Regions from separate parts of the Homo sapiens genome. Here region 1 is linked to region 2. The links are contacts of gene promoters, found by promoter capture Hi-C in blood cells and fetal thymus (Javierre and others, 2016). All regions are on one chromosome and are shown on one strand. Each heading gives the region's core, a stretch centred on a gene start or on the middle of the fragment in contact. The rest is flanking DNA. Distances are from core to core; before and after follow the strand shown. Region 1 has its middle 19 kb from the start of LINC01698. Region 2 holds the start of LAMB3 (laminin subunit beta 3).

Region 1 (5,007 bases), core at 2,496-4,995, 260 kb before region 2:
AGGTGACATATGTAAAGGCCTTCCACAATGCTGACACATAGGCACAGAGTCAATTCACCTAGGGCTGTGGATTTGCACAGGAAATGAAGAAAAAACACAAAAGCAGCAAGCTCAGAGCAATGAAGACTCTTGCTGTCAGTGTGCAGACCCTTTCCTCCATGGATGTATTGTCCCAACCAGCGCTCCCTTGCTGCAAGGGAGCCTGGAAGTCCTTTTTTTCCCTTTTTTTCCTTCCTTCTTTCCTTTCGTTTTCTCCTTTATTCCTTCCTTCCTTTCTTCCTTTTTTTCTCTCTTTTCGTAAATGAGAAACACATGAGTGAATCATTTTTATAAGTTTTCCTGGGAATCCAGCATCTCTAGCCAGAATATTAATAACGTGGTTACTCTGATGATTTCTCCCATTGACCCTAAAAACCTAGACATTCTCTTTTATAGGTAGGTCTCTTCAAGTGAGGTCAGCTTCTCCAGATAATTTCTGGTGATTTATGCAGACACCTTGGGGAGGAAAAAAGGAAGCAGCACTGATCTGAGCCTCCTGGAAACTCAACAAGTGGCCTGACCCTTGAAGGGTTTCTTCACCGTGTCTGGTAAAGTTTCCAAATTCTGGAGATGTGGAAGCAGAGGCACATTACCAGAAGGCCAGGTAATAAGCATGTTGGCAAGTACTACTGCTGGCCCTGACCCACCATATCATACCACAGGACCATCCACACCCATCCCCTATCCCAAAACCACACATCCACACTCCCCACCACCACCTTAACACACACACACTGCTCATTTCCCTCTGGAGATATGCAGGGCTCTCCATGGTCAAATGACCCTAAATCCTCTGGTGAATCAGGTTGAATCAGAGCCCATGAGTCATCCAGAGCACATCTAACCCAGGGTTAATTTATTCAGCAATCATTAAGAAAGCAAGTTCCTACTGCCAGGTGCCGTCCTAGGCATGACAGGCTGATGTTTCTAGAACATATTTGACAGCCTTTCTCCCCAAGTCACACCATGAAGGAGAAACCATTTCAGTTAAGAATGGTGAGTCAAGAGCTTGGCATGGAGGTATTACCAAGGAAGAGATCTGTGTTGAGCCTGTGTGCAGATCCTTAGCATTTAATTTATTCTGCAAGGACACACAAGGTGGTAGGAAACCACTCCAGGGAACCCACCGAAGAGTCAAGCAAAGCAGAGCATGGGTGCAATCACAAGTCATAGTGTGGGGTGGAGAGGCAAGGATGGGGGAAGAGCAAAGAAAAGGAGGACTTCCCTCAGAAGACCTGCTACTTTTAAACTCAACCTTGGCCAAAGAACCAAGAAGCACTTTAGCAACTTCCCCATGCTCGTCTCCAAAATTTCCTAGGATCTGAGAGGTGGAGGAGAGGGAGCTCCTTACAGGGAAATGAACAGAGAGTGATGGTGGGGCCTAGTTTGGGTTAGGCAATGTGGGCTACTGTGAGGGTTTTAAAATATAAATATGCAGAACACAGAGGGCTTTTAGGGCAGTCAACTACTTTTATGATACTATAATGGTAGATACCTGTCATTATACTTTTGTCCAAACCCATAGACTGTACAATACCAAGAATTAACCCCAGTGTAAACTCTGAACGTTGAGTGATAAGGATGTGTCAGTGTAGGTTTATCAGTTGTAACAAATGGGCCCCTCTGTGGGGGATGTTGATAATGGGGAGGCCATGCATGTGTGAAGGCAGGGAGTAGAGGGGAAATCTCTATACTTTCCATTCAATTTAGCTGTGAATCCACAACTTTCCTAAAAACTAAACTATATTAAAATAAAAAATCTTAAATAAAAAAACCACATGTCTGCAAATTATATGACAATCCCCTTAGAGAGAGGGAAGGCCAGCTGGGCACAGTGGCTCATGCCTGTAATCCCAGCACTTTGGGAGGCTGAGGTGGGTAGATCATGAATTCAGGGGTTCGAGACCAGCCTGGCCAACGTGGTGAAACCCCATCTCTATTAAAAATACAAAACATTAGCCAGGCTTGGTGGTGCATGCCTGTAATCCCATCTACTCAGGACACTGAGGCAGGAGAATCACTTGAACCCAGGAGGTGGAGGTTGTAATGAGCTGAGATCACACCATTGCACTCCAGCCTGGGCAACAGAGTGAGACTTGGTCTCAAAAAAAAAAAAAAGAGAAAGAGACAGAGAGAGAGGGAAGGCCTATAGCATTTCCCCTTGTATCTGAGCAAGCTTCTAACTTACTTGTAATCAAAAGAATGTGGCAGAAGTAATGCTCCATGACTTCCAAAGCCAAATGGTAAAAGACCTTGCAGCCTCCATCTTGTTCTCTGGAACATTTGCACTTGGAGTTCTGAACCCCAAGCCACGGTGTAAGAAATTCAACTGCCCTGAAACCACAACTACAATGAAAGGAATCTCAGGTGTCTGGAGCAGCCATGTGTAAGAGTGCTGAAGGTCACAGCTGAGTCCTACCCCAGAGCCAGCATCACCTGACTGACTTGTGAATTAATCAACATTTCATGATCCCACTCTCCCACAGCCTTGAATTCCCCACAGCCTTTGAGTCTTCCTAGTTGAGGCTCAGATGTTGTGGAGCAGAGGTAAGCAGCCCCTGCCATGCCCTGTTCAAATTCCTGGCCCATGAAATCTGTGAGCCAAAAAAAAAAAAGTTATTTTTATGTTTTATGCTCCTAAGTAGATGCAAACTGTAGTGACTTGCAGGGCTTCCTTGATCCAATGATGAGGATTGGGGGTGTTGGAGGGTGACCTGTGTCAGAAAAAGGAGAAAGAGGAATGCACAGACCAGGCCATGCCACTATGGAAGACAAACAATGATCTGAACAGTGCTATTTGTACAGACGGTCCACAACTTATAATGGTTTGACTTACAATTTTTTGACTTTATAATGACACGTAAGCAACATGTGTTCAGTAGAAACCATACTTCAAATATCCGCCTACCATTCTGTTTTTCACTTTCAGTTCAGTATTCAATAAATTACATGAGATATTCAACACTTCGTTATAAAATGGGCTTTGCGTTAGATGATTTTGCCCAACTGCGGGCTATGTCCTTGTTTGTTGCACGAACATTGTTCAAGTATGTTTAAGATACGTTAGGCTAAGAGATGATGCTCAGCAGGTGAGGTGTATTAAATGCATTTTCAAACTATAATATTTTCAACATACCCCGTCATAAGTTGAGGAGAGTCTGTACTATTTGCTTTTTTGAGGTGAAAATGGAACCTCATGTAAACACATTTCACGAAGGATCCCTGGGCCTGGCCTCTGGCATCACAGCCTTGCAGTGGTCACTGGGGATGCACACAGCCTCTCTTGACTGCTACCCTAATCAACAGCAGACAGGAGCCTCCTCCTCTTCAGAGGCCCTTCCCGTGGTTGGAAGCCAAACAACTTCATAGTGGGACATCTGTCTATTTCGCATAGGCTCCTTGGAGAAATGCTGGTGGACAGGATTTGAAGACTTGCAGTCAGGAATTCATTCCTCCCAGCAGGGGATGGGGGCTCAACTCCTGGTGACTCAGACCCTGGCAGGGGCTTCTGCCACTTCTTGCTTGTTCCCTCACCACCTCCCAGGGGTTTTTTTAGGTGATGACAAAGATTGTGTCTCCCCAAAAGGTATCCCAAAAACTGCCCTGAGATCAAGTTTTTAAGTTGTCATCTTAAAAAGTTCTTTTAAGTTGTCATCTTAAAAGAGACCCTAGTCAGCCTGGGAGTGCTGGTTTACATTTAGCTTCAGGGAGTTCCTTGTTGCAGAGAGCTCTCTTTATTTACTCTTTGTCTTTCTGTTATTTCCACTACTTGGAAAAAAGACCCACCTTCTCACCCCTACCCTTCCCACCATACCTCTAAGAATATTTGACTTGTTTAAACAGCCACTCATTAGAACTCAAGTTCATTTTAAGAAAAGCCTTTGACATCCTCATTCTAGGAGGAGAGGGAGGATGCACTCGATAGGCTCAGTGGGCAGGTCACAGGTAGGGAGCATCCAGGACCTCTGGAGTCCTTGGGACAGGCATGGTTAGACTCCATACATTCAGTGGAGAAGTGGAGGGTGGGTCCGCATCTGCGGGGCTTACCCATTAACCTGTGTCTTGGTTTTCTGAACAGCTCCATTTTTTACAGGTCCACCTGTGTTGTCAGAGGCCTTGTTATCTACTTTGGTTCACTCTGATTTTAATTGCCTCCTCTAACTTGGTGGGTGAATCGGACCTGAACTTACAGACTATTTGAATCAGAAGAGCCCTTAGAAATCACCTAGATCAGCCTTCAGAAAGGAAAAGTGACCTGTCCATGGTCACACAGCAATAGTTCTTCAGTGTCAGAGCTAGGACTAGAAATAGGGCCCCTGGCTTCCAAACCAGGGCTCTGTATTGTGCTCTCAGACTCCCCAGATGGGCTGCTTACTGGAGAGGATGAAGGAATTCAGAGAACATGCTTGAGATCAACCAATCACAAGACTTCTGCTGCCTGAGGTCCTGTTTGCCAAAACCCCCACTCTTTCTTCCTCTTCCACAGCCCAATCCCAGCCACCTAAACCTCTAGAATATTTTGGAGCTGAGCACAAACAAGCTGCTAAGGCAGTGTTCTATTCTTTAGGCATTCTTGAAATTACAATTTCTGCTTATTTTAGAAATTAAGACTTTCCCACCCACCTCTCTTTCTCCTCTTTTTATTCTCCTCCCAACCCTGGCTCTAAATTCATGTCTGCTTTTCTGTTTCCCTGGCTCATAACATATTTCACATGGCCAAGCTGCCATAAAGAATATTTCCTACAAATGCAAACACTGTACTTGGACATACCAATGAAACTTAATTTCTGTCAATGTGCTGTTTGGGGAGTTTTTCAATAAACCATATTCCTTGAACACATTTTGGAACAAACTGAAATACCAAGAAAAGAAGAACATGGTTATTTGCAGACAATGGAGGGACCACTTCAACATAAATATTGTAATAGATGGACAGATTGTCCTATATTATAGCTCTCTGTGTAAGTA
Region 2 (4,774 bases), core at 1-2,500:
ATGTGACTCACAGGGTGCCCTGGGAAAATCCCATCCCTTCCCAGACTCCAGCTTCCTCCTCTAAAATGGATGGGAAGGAGTGTGGACCCTGCCCTACCCCACACAGCCGTAAGGACAACGTGGGGAGCAGGAAAAGGCTGGACCCTTTGCAGGAGAAAAGCTGTAGAAAGGGCCAAGACCTAGTTCCAGCCCCAAGAGAGAGGGCTGGCTTTTCTCAGGGCCTAGACCAGCAGCCTCAACCCAGCCCCGCCCAAAGTGAATGAGTCAGAGTGGCTGACGGCCTGGAGGCAAACCTTCTCCTGTCACGGGCATGGCCTCCAATACCATTCAGGGCCACTTTGAGTTTGAGGCTCTGTGCCCACAATTCTGGGATGCAACAGGGAGAGATGTATGGCTGTCTTTAACAAGTGAGTGAGGGTTTCTTCTGAAAGGGAAGCAACCCAAAATGTCTTCAATGATGGGCTGGGGCTCGACAAGAGGGGTGGGGCTGGGAGGCCACAAAGCAGGGATTCTGAAGGAGGCTGGGGAAGGATGCTCGAAAGCCACCGTGGGGTCCCAGAGGCAGGCCTGCCTTGTGGAAACATGCCCCACCCTTGCTCATGCAGTGACCCTTCTGCCTTGAATTGGATGTTCACTCTGTTCCAATGACAGCCACAAACTCTTTTGGCTGGGGTGGAGGGCTGGGGGCTTGGCAAGGCAGGGGCGGGGGGGGAAATTGAGGACATTTCTGGCATCTTTAAATTATAGATCCTAATGCTTCAAAATCATTCCTTCCAATCCCTCTCCTAAAAGAGTCATGGGCCCAGGGAGGGAACATGTGGCCTGGGGTCCCACAGCTAACGATGGCCTAAGAGAGACCCATCTTCTGACTTTCATCCAGTGCTTTCTCAGCTTTCCCACCCCTGACTGAAAATCCCCCTGCAAGTAGGCATTCTGAGCCAGGCCAGCCCACCCTTCTCACTTCTCTTTTGTGCTCAACCCCGGATCTGAACCTGCTTTCTTCTAAGCCACTGAGGTGCTTATCAAATGTGAAAAAGAAATCAAAACTGTAGCAGACATTTTAACCTAGCTCACCTGAGTGAGCTCCCAGGAAGAGGAATAAATCAGGCCCTGAAACCAGGCCCCAGGCATCCAGAGATACAGTCCTCCTCCCGCATCCGGCCCGCACCAGGCAGGTAAAGACAGGTAACATACCTTGCTGTGTGTTCTGCCGTTCTTTCTCCAGATCGCCTGAAAGCTCCTCTTGAATGTGGGGGTCTCCCCTCCCGGCTCCAGGTTTTTAAACAACAGCCTCACCTCTGGAGACTCCCTGGCTGGGTGTAGCCCCACCGCAGGGCGGGTCTCAGGAATCTGGCAGCCGTCACACCCATCTGTCGTCACTGCACCCCCACCTCCCAGGACGGGACTGGGCAAGTGGGTTGGTCGGTCCGTCCCAGAGTTCTTGTAGTGAGCTCCACAATGCCCACCTGCCTGTGGGGGCTGCAAGGGGCCCCTCAAACAGAAAGCACAAGGCACATGTAAGTGATCATCAGAGACCAGAATTCACAGGGTGGGGAAGGGCCCTTGCATTTGTGCCAGGCAATGAACTCAGCATTTTCCCAAAGCCAGCAGGGGTCAGCTTCTTCTTGTGACCTGGACCACCCCAGACAGAAGATCAGGCAGAGAACACAAAGATTAGGGCTTATATAGAGAGTTAAAGCTCCAGACATATCACCGGGCTGGAAGGTGAGAAGACTCAAACATCCAGGACCCTGGAAAGCACCATTCCCCTCCCCAGTGAAAAAAAAAATGAAAAATCCCAGCTTCTTGGGGCATTTGGAGGATCCTTAAAAGGCAAGGTTCATCAGGAAGGATTCAAAGCTCAACTCATCCAAGGAAAGCTTAAGAGAAATGAGCAGAGTAACTAAATGGCTCGCCTCCAGCTCCCTCCACAGGGTTGGCAGGGAGCCCTGGGACAGGTAGCTGCCTGTGAGTCACTCCTCCCACCTGTGGGGAGGGTTAGTCTCCTAGCCCCTCCCTCCCTAGGCAGGAATGCCCGCCTGGAGGGCCAGAAAACAGACCTGACCACAAGTGGTGGAAGGAAAGGCTGAAGCATAGCTTGACTGACAAAGTCAAAACAGACTTTCCCTGGCCTCCTGCCAGGCCTGAGAACACAGCTTCTTTTGTGGGCTCCTTGCTCAGGGATCCTGGGCTTCCAGCCACTGTAAATGGAAGTGGCAGGTCCAAATTGAGAGGCTGGTCTCACAGGACACTCTTTCCCCCAGGTTAGGGTCAGAGAGCTTTTAGGGAAACCTGGAGGGTCAGCCAGTCCATATCTTGGCCCTGGAGAGCCTGCACTGGCACCGTTTTGGAATGCTAGGACCTCAAAGCTACTATTTAAAGGAGCTTCTTAACTACGATTCCACTTTGTTAGTGTCTCCTAAACAGAAAGTTCTCCACCATTGGAGGGTTATGTCCAAGAAATTGGCTTGAAGACCCTTAAGGGGGAAATGTAGAATTTTGTGGATTAAATTGGGCATTTCTAACCCTCAGATTCGAATTAAGCATAAGTTCAGGTAGGCAGAAGAAATAGTGTAATTAGCAAGTGGGCAGTGAGTTGTTGATGTAAGTTGATGCATAATTGATAGTCCAATAAATGTTAGAGTCTTGCCCCCTGTAAGCATTCCAGTGAAATCTAGCTCAACTCAGCAAGTAAGGTCAGTAGAAGCAGTGTCCCTTCAACACAGAGAGACCTCCCTCAAGTCCCCCACCGAGAAAGGTCAGCTCTGACTCTGACACACCTGTGTTTTCAGTTCTCCCACCTGGTGGTCTCTTTCTCTCCACTTCCCCAACTCCCTGAACTCAGAGCGCTCATGAAACTTTCGCCCTCTGCCCATCACCAGAGGATGTGACAAAGAACTCATTAATAATTAACTCAGCAGAAGAGAGCAGGTGTTGCAATCCCAGATCCTCAGAGGAGAAAAGGCAGGGCAGGTGTGCGGTGGGCCTCACCATGAGTAGCTGGGGCCCCTTAAATCCTCCTCCTCCTCCCTTTATCTGAGGCCATGAGCCCAGGTAAATACACATTCGGTGTCTCAGACTTCACAGGCTTGGGCAGGTCCTGGAGTGGTTTGGCTTCGCAGGAGGGACATGCCAATTGCTGTGCTTGGCTCTCCCCTACACTCCCGGCAAAGTCCAGGAAGCTGTTTATGCAGACCCCCAAGAGCAGCCCAGCCAGCCTCACTCCTGAGGGACACTGATCATTTCCAAGTGGGGATCCAGTCCCCCAAGAACTCCAGGGCTCCAGGCACAAGCTCTGGAGCTTCAGAACCCAATTTGTTCAGTCAAGTAGCCTAAAATAGAGCCTGAGGCCAGATCAGGGTCCAGCTAAGATTAAAGGGGTGTGGTACTGTGGCTGGAGCCCCTCAGCCTCCCCTGTGTGCACACCTTTCCTCTCTCCCTGCGCCCATCCTCCTACAACAGAGCACTTATCTGCCCTAGAGCCTTGACTTATTAGAATGTGTGCTCAGGAAAGTGGCTAGTGAAGTCATCCCAGACTTCAGTATCTTTCAAACCTCATCACTCCATCAGCAAATTCGGTCAGCTCTGCCTTCCAATAATAATCAGAATCTACTTCTTCCCTCCTGGCCTGAGCCTCTTTTCCTGGGACGTCTGCAACAGCCTCCTCACTGATATACAGTCAAGTCCCAACACAGCAGGTTATGCACCCCGAGCTCAGAATCTTCACATGCCCCTATCCCACTCAGGGCCAAGGCCAGAGCTTTTTCAGAGTCTAGGGGACCCTACACCACCTTCCTCCCATTACTCTTCACCTCTACTACAATGGCCTCTATCCCTGTCTTAGCTCAGGCTTAGGGCTTTGGCTCCAGCTGCTTCTGCTGCCTGGAACGGTCTTGCCCCTGGATATCTACAAAGCTAACTCTCTGACCTCTTTCAAAGTCTTTGTTCAGATCCTAACTTCTCAATGAGGCCTATCCTAAACACACTATTAAAATTACAGCCAACTTCCCTGCCCCATCCCTGTCCCCCATCCTAACACTCCTAACCCCACCTACCCTATATTTTGGTGAGTTATTTATTTACTTATTTGGTAGGGGGGCATCATGTACCAGCTTCTAACCAACTATATAATTTATCTGCTTATGTTTATTTTCTGTCTCTTCCCAACTAGAATGTAATATCCAAGAAGGCAGAGATTTCTATCTTATTCACTACTGTTTTCCAAGTGCCTGGCACATAGTAGGTGCTCAATACTTGTGGAATGAATGGATCCACACTAAAGTACAAACAATTGATACAGTTCAATGCATCCCCTGTGCCGTTGATGTGTAGTTGCATTCTCAGAGGGGACAATCCAGGCTTTGGGCACTGGGATGGATTACTAATAGTGGAAATTCCTGTATCAGCCAGAGTGCGGAGGTCTTTTTTGAGGCACCTATCTCCAATTACAGAAATGTCACCATATTGACAGAGGCAGTCTCCTTCTTTGCCTGCTTCTCAGTCATTCCTGGCAATGTCTCTGACAGGGTGTGGGGGTGGCATTATAAGCTACTGTGTCTATTATCCATCTGTCAGGCTCAAACCGTCCAAGTCGCTAGGGAGATCAGCCAAGATCTGATCAATCAGAGATCAAGGGATAGGGAACAAAGGAAGGAGAAAAGGAGGAAGAAAAGGAGAGAGAAGAGGTTCAGGGGGCATAGGAGAACCTGGTCCAGGCTGTGACTCTCAGGTGTTGGAGGAAGGGGCACCAGGTGACTCAAGCTCAGGCCACACC

What was found. Contacts are between HindIII fragments. The CHiCAGO score rates a contact against its expected background, and 5 or more counts as called.
Region 1: a contact is called between a fragment that was not itself captured here and the fragment with the promoter of LAMB3 in region 2, in 1 of 17 cell types (monocytes). The highest score is 6.6, in monocytes.

What each region holds. Positions count from the first base shown.
Region 1 is chr1:209,388,526-209,393,532 of GRCh38, forward strand. No RefSeq gene overlaps it. Among named protein-coding and RNA genes, the nearest start is that of LINC01698, 19 kb to the left of the region's middle. The HindIII fragment of the contact is 3,065 bases long and covers 2,214-5,007 here.
Region 2 is chr1:209,651,175-209,655,948 of GRCh38, forward strand. It overlaps LAMB3 (laminin subunit beta 3), which reads right to left and starts at 1,251. Exons shown (of 23, transcript NM_000228.3): 1 at 1,195-1,251. RefSeq lists an enhancer at 753-1,952. The HindIII fragment of the contact is 2,819 bases long and covers 1-1,878 here.